3 separate regions of the Homo sapiens genome follow, and regions 1 and 3 are each linked to region 2. The links are contacts of gene promoters, found by promoter capture Hi-C in blood cells and fetal thymus (Javierre and others, 2016). All regions are on one chromosome and are shown on one strand. The core of a region is centred on a gene start or on the middle of the fragment in contact, and the rest is flanking DNA. Distances in the headings are between cores, read along the strand shown.

Region 1 (2,700 bases), core at 183-2,682, 290 kb before region 2:
GGCCCTAAGTACCCGGAGTCATCCTTGACTTCTCTTTCTCTCCCTGTCTCCTTCCCTTCCACCAATCCATTAGCAAACACTGTTGGCTTTACGTTCAAAATATGACCAAAATCATCTGAGCACTTACCACCTTCAGGCCTGCTTCAAGCCACCCCCTACCAGCCCCTTCTCAGAGGCCCCCCCACCCCCAGGTGCCATGTACTCTGTTAGCACCTGAGCCACAGCTGAGCCCTCCACTGCCCAGGAACCTCTGCCACTCCCCAGCTGCTCTGACTAAACACTGGATCTTTATAATGGCCCTGGGCCTTGAACCTGGGCCTTCTCTCCCTGAGCCCTCTGCCACTCTCCCCTGCTCACACCAGGCCAATGCTGACAACTTCCCCTCTGTGCTGTTCCGCTGCCTGGAATGCTCTCTGCCCAGATGTGTGCTTGGGTGACTGCTTGCCTCCCAGGAAGCTTGCCCAAATCTTGCCTCCTCAGTTAGGACAGCCCCGGCCATTCATCTCAAAGGCAAGGGGCACAGAGTATGGGCTCAGTACACGTATGGGGGAGGAGGGAGGGAGGGAGGTGGAGAGGGAGGAGGAGGAAGGGAGGAATGCACAGGCCATTTCATTCCAGCGAGAACAGGTCACAAGGCACACCCAAAAGCAACCCGGGTGGTACAAAACTAAAGATGACCGAAGGCCACCATGAACAGGCGGGAGAGGGCAGCTCTGTTCATCACCCCTGGGGCAGATGTGGAGACTCCAGATGTGTCACATCTGGACAGCCCCTTCTCTGCCCCTTCCTACCCCCTGCCCCGCCCATCCACCAGGGGTTCAAGACAATACAGGAGACAGTTGTCCTCCTCCCAGGACCCTGAGAATGGCTGGGGCTGGGGAAGATGCTCAGTGGCCTTTGAAACTCAGCTTAATTTTGCGCCAAACGGGTGACCCTGCCACCCCCATGAAAAGGCAGAGCACTAGAATGAGAGTCCAGACTATGGACTCTAGTCCTCTTGATGTCCCAAGCTCAGCATGTGACCTCAGACTAGGCACTTAGCCTCTGTGGGCCTCAGTTTCCCCTTCTGTCCAAATCAGGGGGGTTGGAATGTGGTCACCCAACTAAAAGCCCACTCTATACACTGAGCGTCTACAAATACAAGGAACACAGAGTTGATTTGTTAGGAAACCCATCACGTCCATCCTGACCTAGATGGGTTTCACTCTGACGTTGTGCAGTCAAATGCTCTACCCCTGAGCTACACCCCCTACTCTGACGTTGTGACCGCTGCACCTGGGCTGATTGTACCCCAGACCAGGGGCAATGTCACCTGGCACCACCCTTTCCCACTACTCTTCCCTCTCGAGAGAGACTGGGGTTTCACACAGAGCAGTCGAGCCCCATAAATAGCAGCTGGCCACTCACAGGCCAACCCTCCCAGGCCCCAAAAAGGAAGTGAGAGACAGGCAGACACTTCTGTTCTTCCTGCAGAAAGTGCTGCTTCTGCAGTGACTCGTCAGATGCTCCCCAGAGCCCAGCACAGACCCGGCTCCACCCACTTCTGTGGGTTGGCCAGATGAGTGAGAAACACAGGCACAGCCAACGAGAGGGAGCTGAGGCCGGACCCAGGAGTCTTTTTCCTATGGTAGGGGATATCTCTGTGTGAGGAAGCCCCATGGGGAGTCCTTGGGTGAGTTGCCAGGAGGAGGTGACTCAGGATAAATTCCCTTAGGAGGTGCCTTCACTTCTAGATCCAAAGAGTCATCCCCTACCTCCTTAGGGTAAAACTAGATTTTGAGTATCACGGTGTTTGTGGATAACCTGGCCCCAGTGAGTCCCCTTGCAAGGGCCTTTGGAGATGCTTCTGCACATGGACACTAGGAGCCATGAGCAGAGACAGTCCCTGCAGCAGCATCTGAAACCATGAACCCCAGGAAGACAACGTGGCACTGTTTTTGTCAGCCCTGCCTACGCTTTGCTAAAGTCTGTCCATTCAGCTCTTTTTCATGTTGACCGCACCACTGTTTCCTGCCCAGGTCCTGCCTGATATAGTAACCGGGAAAGGGATGAATGTGATGCAATGTGCTCTTGTAATGGAGCATCACAGAACAGGTCAAAGACACAAGCCACACAGCAACGAGCGCGGACAGGCAGGGCAGAGCACAGCTGCACGTAAGTACATTTTAAACACGGACCCCAACATAGCACTAGACATTGTTCATAATGCCTCCCTACATATGTAAAACACAAAAGTGGATTGGAGACACACAGAGGGGAGACTGCAGGCACCTCAGCCTCTCATCCCTCTTCTCATCAGGCCATTTCTGCTCTGCACCAGCGGTTCTCAACCAAAGTGCTTCTGCCTTCACTGTCAGGAGACATGTGGCCATGCTGGGGACATCTGGGGTGTCTCAATGATGGGGGTGGGAGGGATTGCTACTGGCATCTGGGGGTAGAGGCCAGGGATGTTCCCAACCATCCTAGGATGCAAGGGACAGCCCCACCACAAAGCAGGTGTGGCCCCAGCTCGTTCACAGCTGTCTACTTCCTCCTGGCGTAGCTGTGCAACTTGTACAACCACAAGCAACACGTATTTGTTTTACAAGGAACTCACTGGAGACAGCACCCAGTCTGAGAACTTTGTACTATGGAAGGGTTTTGTTTTTGAAAACCGAAATTACAGAATAAATTACAGAGAGAGAGAGAGCAAGAGCGAGA
Region 2 (2,700 bases), core at 45-2,544:
ATCACAATTCTACCCCTAGAAATGGAGTCCTGGCCGGGCGCAGTGGCTCACGCCTGTAATCCTAGCACTTTGGGAGGCCGAGGTGGGCGGATCACTTCAGGTGAGGAGTTCGAAACCAGCTTGGCCAACATGGTAAAAACCCCATCTCTATTAAAAATACGAAAAAATTAGCCGCGTGGGCTGGCCGCGGTGGCTCATGCCTGTAATCCCAGCACTTTGGGAGGCCGAGGCCAGTGGATCACCTGAGATCAAGGTTCGAGACCAGCCAGGCCAACATGGTGAAACCCTGTCTCTACTAAAAATACAAAAATTAGCCGGGCAGGCGCCTGTAATCCCAGCTACTCGGGAGGCTGAGACAGGAGAATCGCTTGAACCTCGAAGGCGAAGGTTGAGGTGAGCCGAGACCGCGCCACTGCACTCCAGCCTGGGAGACAGTGAGACTCCGTCTCAAAAAAAAAAAAAGCCGTGTGAGCTGGCGGGCGCCTGTAATCTCAGCTACTCGGGAGGCTGAGACAGGAGAATCGCTTGAAGCCGGGAGGCTGAGGTTGCAGTGAGCCGAGATCGCGCCACTGCACTCCAGCCTCGGCTAAAAAAAAACAAAGAAGAAGAAATGGAGTCCTACGAGCGAGAGCTTCCGCAGCATTCTGTAGGACCAAAATAGGCGCACAGGTTCCCGAGCGTGCGCCGCCTGGCAGCGGAGGAGCTGGCAGAGGCGAGCCATAGAGCCAAGACACCCAGAACGGACTCGCCTCCCGCCCGCTCCCGGCGGCCTAGTCAGCAAGCTGCGGATCGGCGGCAAAGATGACATGGCGGTGCGCCAATCACCGAAGGCAAGAGAGACAGAAGGAACCAATAGTCGCCCGAGATGGCTCCTGGCGGAAGTCACGCCCCCAAACTGTCAAGCAAAGCGCCCGGTGGAAGGGGCCCAGGCCGGGGGGAGGGGGCTCCCGGCGGCCCGAGGGAGGGGAGGCCGGCCGGCGAGGACAGCGGAGCGCGAGGGGGCTGCCTACACTCGGCCGCGCTCGATCCTGCCCTGATCTAAACGCCGCAACCCCAAGCCCGGCCCCGGAGAAGAGTCTCAGGACTAAAAGGGCTGTTCCAGCCGTCCGTGCTGGCGCCTGGGGATCCAGGCCAGTTCCCGGTACCCGCCCATGCCCAGCCCGGCGGCCTAGGGCGTTACCTTGAGCTGAGAGCTGTCGGACACTGTTCACGAACTGCTCCAGGGCAGACGCCATGTTTTCCCCCGGGCGGCCCGAGCGGCGAAGGCAGCACGCGCGGGAAAAGGCTGCCGCTCTGGGAGGAGGGGCCGCGGCGATCCACCTGAGGTCCTCGCGAGCGGCGACGTCACTTCCGCTGGTTCAAGCACCGCGAGACTATACCTAGCTGCCCACCCGTTACTGTTTCCATGGAAACAGCCTGAATTCGCCGTAGCCGGAAATTAGTGTTCCATAGTCCCCTGCATCTTTATTCACTGCACTTCTGAAATCCCTCCGCAGGTTAAATGGGGATAGTGGGCAAAAGAAGGAAGGAAACTCATAATTAAGCAAGTATTTTCTGGTTCTGGATTTTGCTAGAGAGGCCCTGCGGTTTTCCACCTGGACAGATACTTCAATGAAGCACAACTTCGTTGCCACGTCTCCCGTGAGGTTTTCCCCGTGATATTAGACTCTGGAGCCAAGCAGCCTGGGTTCAACTGCCTTTTCTACCACTTAGTAGCTGTGTGACGTTGAGCGGGTCACTTGACTGTCGTGTGCATTGTTTTCCCCATCTGTAAAATCTTAGTGTCCTTAACCACGTAAAACACTTAGGACAGTGCATAGGACGTAGGGAGAACTATAGTTATTCATTCAAGGTGTACGTTGAATGAATCGATCCCTTCCCTGCAAAAAATAAATAAATAAGTAACACCACACACAGAAAGTGAATTGATTTTTCCCATCTGGGATTGATGTCTCCCTCCTCCGCTTGTCGCCTAAAGCACTTTGTTCTTCTCATGTTGCACTTCTACTCTGTTACAGAAATGTGTCTCTATAGTCCATGTGATATCTGTAAACCAAAAATAAAAGTCTAAGCCCCCCAACTGACTGGTGGACCCTATCTGAAGCCAAGGACATTCCAATTTATCCTGAAAAACTAGTTCAGGCCATGATGGGAAGTGGTAGTCAGACATGCCTCACAAACATCAACACAGAGACCTTAAGACTGGTAGACTCAAGACTGATAAGAAATATTTACAATCTATTCTGTCTGAATAGCAGGCTACCTGGAAGCCTCATCTGCATGATAAAACCTTGGTCTCCACAACCCCTTATAATCATAACCCAGATATTTCTTTCTATTTACTTCCAGGTCTTTAGATAATAACTCTTTCAACCAATTACCAATCAAAAAATCTTTAAGTCTACCTATAAGGTAGAAGCCCCCCACTGCCCCGAGTTAGCCCGTCTTTCCGATCCTAACCAACGTACATCTTACATGTATTGATCGATGACTCATGTCTCCCTAAAATGTATAAAACCAAACTGTACCCGCACCTTGGGCACATGTCCTGAGGAGCTCCTGAGGCCGTGTTATCATCGCATCCTTCACCTTGGCAATATAAACTTTCTCGATTGAGACTGGTCTCAGATACTTTTGGTTTACGGATCCATTGCTTCTAACTGGCATGGAGTTCCTTAAGGTCAAGCATTTCTCTTACTA
Region 3 (2,700 bases), core at 126-2,625, 380 kb after region 2:
CAAGAGCAAAACTCCATCTCAAAACAAAACAAAAACAAAAACATAAACAAAAAAGAAAATAAACTACTATATTCACGGCAAAGACAGATTAAGGACAAGGCAGTTGAAAATGAAATGACAGGACCTGAAGAAAAGTGTGTTTCCCAGAGCTGCTCTCACGAGCTCTCCGGGAGGTGGGAGGGTCACTCAGCCCCAAGCTTTGTGAGATGTTGGGTGTTGGTGTGTGGCCAGGTATATTTACGTATAATTTACATACAATTAAACTCATCAATTTTTAGCATACAATTCTATGGATTTTGACAAATGTGTCAAATCACATAACTGCCTCAAGCCCCCTTGTGGTCAGGTCAGCCTTTTCCCCATCCCCAGTTCCTGGCAACCGCTGATTAGTTTTCTGTCCCTATCATTTTGTCACTCCCGGAATGTCACATAATAGAATCCTGCAGCCTACAGCCTTTCAAGGCTGGCTACTTTTGCTCAGCATAATCCACTTAAGATTCACTGATATTTTTGTACGTACCAGTAGCTTGTTCCTTTTTTTTGAGACGGAGTTTCACTCTTGTGGCCCAGGCTGGAGTGCAATGGCACGATCTCAGCTCACTGCAACCTCCGCTTCCTGCGTTTAAGCGATTCTCCTGCCTCAACCTCCCAAGCAGCTGGGATTACAGGCATGCACCACCAAGCCTGGCTAATTTTGTATTTTTAGTAGAGACAGGGTTTCTCCATGTTGGTCAGGCTGGTCTCAAACTCCTGATCTCAGTGATCTGCCCGCCTTGGCCTCCCAAAGTGCTGGGATTACAGGCATGAGCCACCGCGCCTGGCCATTTGTTCCTTTTTATTGACAAATACTATTTCCTTGTCTGGACATACCGCATGTTGCCTCTCCATTCATCAGTGGATGAACAATGGGCTGTTTTCACCAGTGCACTTGCCTTGGAATCCACAAACTGCAAATGGCAGTGGCCTTGCCCATCCCACCCACACCGCTGCAGTGCGCGGCCTGCTCGTTGGGCCACAGATACATGAACCTCCACCTGCCTCAGGGCCTCTGCACTTACTGTTGCGATGCTTGCGATGCTCTTCCCATGACTCTGGCCTCCTTCCTCAGAACCTCTGCTCATAAGTCACCTCTCTGACCACCCTGTCCTCAGTTTCCACCCCATCACTCTCTGTGCCCTCCTCCTGCTGTTCCTTCTCCCAGCACCCACTGGAGTCTCTGGTTTTGTTTGCTTGTTTGTGTATTGTCCATCTCCCACCAGACTGGAGACTGGAGACCCTCAGCGGAGGAAGTCTCTGTTCATGGCTGTATCCCCAGGGCCTGACACAGAGTGGACTCTAAATATGAGTTGAGTGAGCAGCTGCTGGTACAGGATCACAGGAGGATTAAATGAAATAGCGAGTGTGAGTGCCCTTTGCAACCTGCTGTGCTTATTGAGGGGGAAACAGGCTGAGAAAGGTGCAGTGACCAACCCAGGGCCACCAGGTCAGAGCGATAGACACCCAGGCCTACACCCCTCCCTGGGCCACCCTCCTGTCCACCCTGCCTCAGGGCCAGCGTTCCTAAGGCACATTACACACACACACAGCCCACAGACACCCAGACCGCACACACAGCTCAACACCACACACAGACAAACGCCCTCAATGCAGACATGCCCAGCCTTGCACACACAGGAAGTCCACACACAAACACCAGCACACTGCCTTGAACACGCAGGAATAGCATTCACACGCCCATCCCCCTACACAAACACACAGGCCACACCCACACGCCAAAACACACCCCCAGCGTCAGACCTTGATGACTGACAGCCCAGGACTCCAGTGGGCTTGCGTCGCCATAACAACAGACGGCTCCGAGTCTTGGGCTGTGAGTGTGGTCGGGCTGTGAGTCACAGCTGCAGCAGACGCTCCGCAGAGCAGGAGCAGCCTGGCCCAGTGCGGACTCCCCAGTGCCAACCTCTTATGGACGCAGAGTGGACCCTCTCAGATGGGTGTGCAGTGTCCATTAGCATTACCCACAGGAGGGATGTGGCCCTCAGGTGTCCCCTGTGTGCCACACACTGGCGTGCGCCCAGAGCTTCACACACATTTTCTTGCTTAATCCTCGTGGTGTCCTCACCAAATCAGTGTGGCCAGGGAGACCATTTTACAGATGTTGAAACTGAGGTTCAGGTAGGGGAAGTCCCTTGCCTCACTCAGGTCACACAGTGAGTCACCACCAGGCCTGAAATTTGAATTCAGGTCTACTGAACCATGAAGGGTCCTCTTTCCACTGCCCTGAATCCAATCCAGGGGAGCTCCCAGCTGTGCACACCATTTCCAGACAAGAGCAATAGATTATCAGCTCTCACTTGCACCAGAGTTGGTTCTGCCCTTGTAGAGCTCCCTTGGTAGGTAGTGAGATCCCCATCATGAGCAGCATCCAAGCAGAGACTGTCATAGCTGCTATGGAGAAGCATCAAGTATCAGGGGACAAGGGGTTGGACCAGACGGCCTGGCTTTGAGTTGTAAATGACAAAAAAAATTATTGGCAAACAAAACAGGAATATAAAAGCTTCAGGAACAGCTGGATCCAGCTGTCAGATGTCATCAGGAATCTTCTTCTGGATTTCCCCTTCCTTGGGGTTCACTTTCTTCTCAGAATAACCTTCCCTAGCCTAGGGTAGACCTCACAGCTGCAGGCTTACATCGGTCGTG

What was found. Contacts are between HindIII fragments. The CHiCAGO score rates a contact against its expected background, and 5 or more counts as called.
Region 1: a contact is called between the fragment with the promoter of LINC02090 here and the fragment with the promoter of COPS3 in region 2, in 14 of 17 cell types (total B cells, total CD8 T cells, M1 macrophages and 11 more). The highest score is 10.0, in total B cells.
Region 3: a contact is called between a fragment that was not itself captured here and the fragment with the promoter of COPS3 in region 2, in 1 of 17 cell types (endothelial precursors). The highest score is 5.0, in endothelial precursors.

What each region holds. Positions count from the first base shown.
Region 1 is chr17:16,986,897-16,989,596 of GRCh38, forward strand. LINC02090 (long intergenic non-protein coding RNA 2090) reads left to right here and starts at 1,433. Exons shown (of 3, transcript NR_146886.1): 1 at 1,433-1,627; 2 at 2,019-2,154. RefSeq lists enhancers at 93-923, 1,556-1,775. The HindIII fragment of the contact is 6,040 bases long and covers 455-2,700 here.
Region 2 is chr17:17,279,952-17,282,651 of GRCh38, forward strand. COPS3 (COP9 signalosome subunit 3) reads right to left here and starts at 1,295. Exons shown (of 12, transcript NM_003653.4): 1 at 1,181-1,295. The coding sequence starts at 1,235. RefSeq lists enhancers at 683-742, 1,393-1,492 and a silencer at 933-1,172. The HindIII fragment of the contact is 7,073 bases long and covers 1-2,700 here.
Region 3 is chr17:17,661,669-17,664,368 of GRCh38, forward strand. No RefSeq gene overlaps it. Among named protein-coding and RNA genes, the nearest start is that of SMCR2, 15 kb to the right of the region's middle. RefSeq lists enhancers at 1,435-1,524, 2,015-2,154. The HindIII fragment of the contact is 2,360 bases long and covers 196-2,555 here.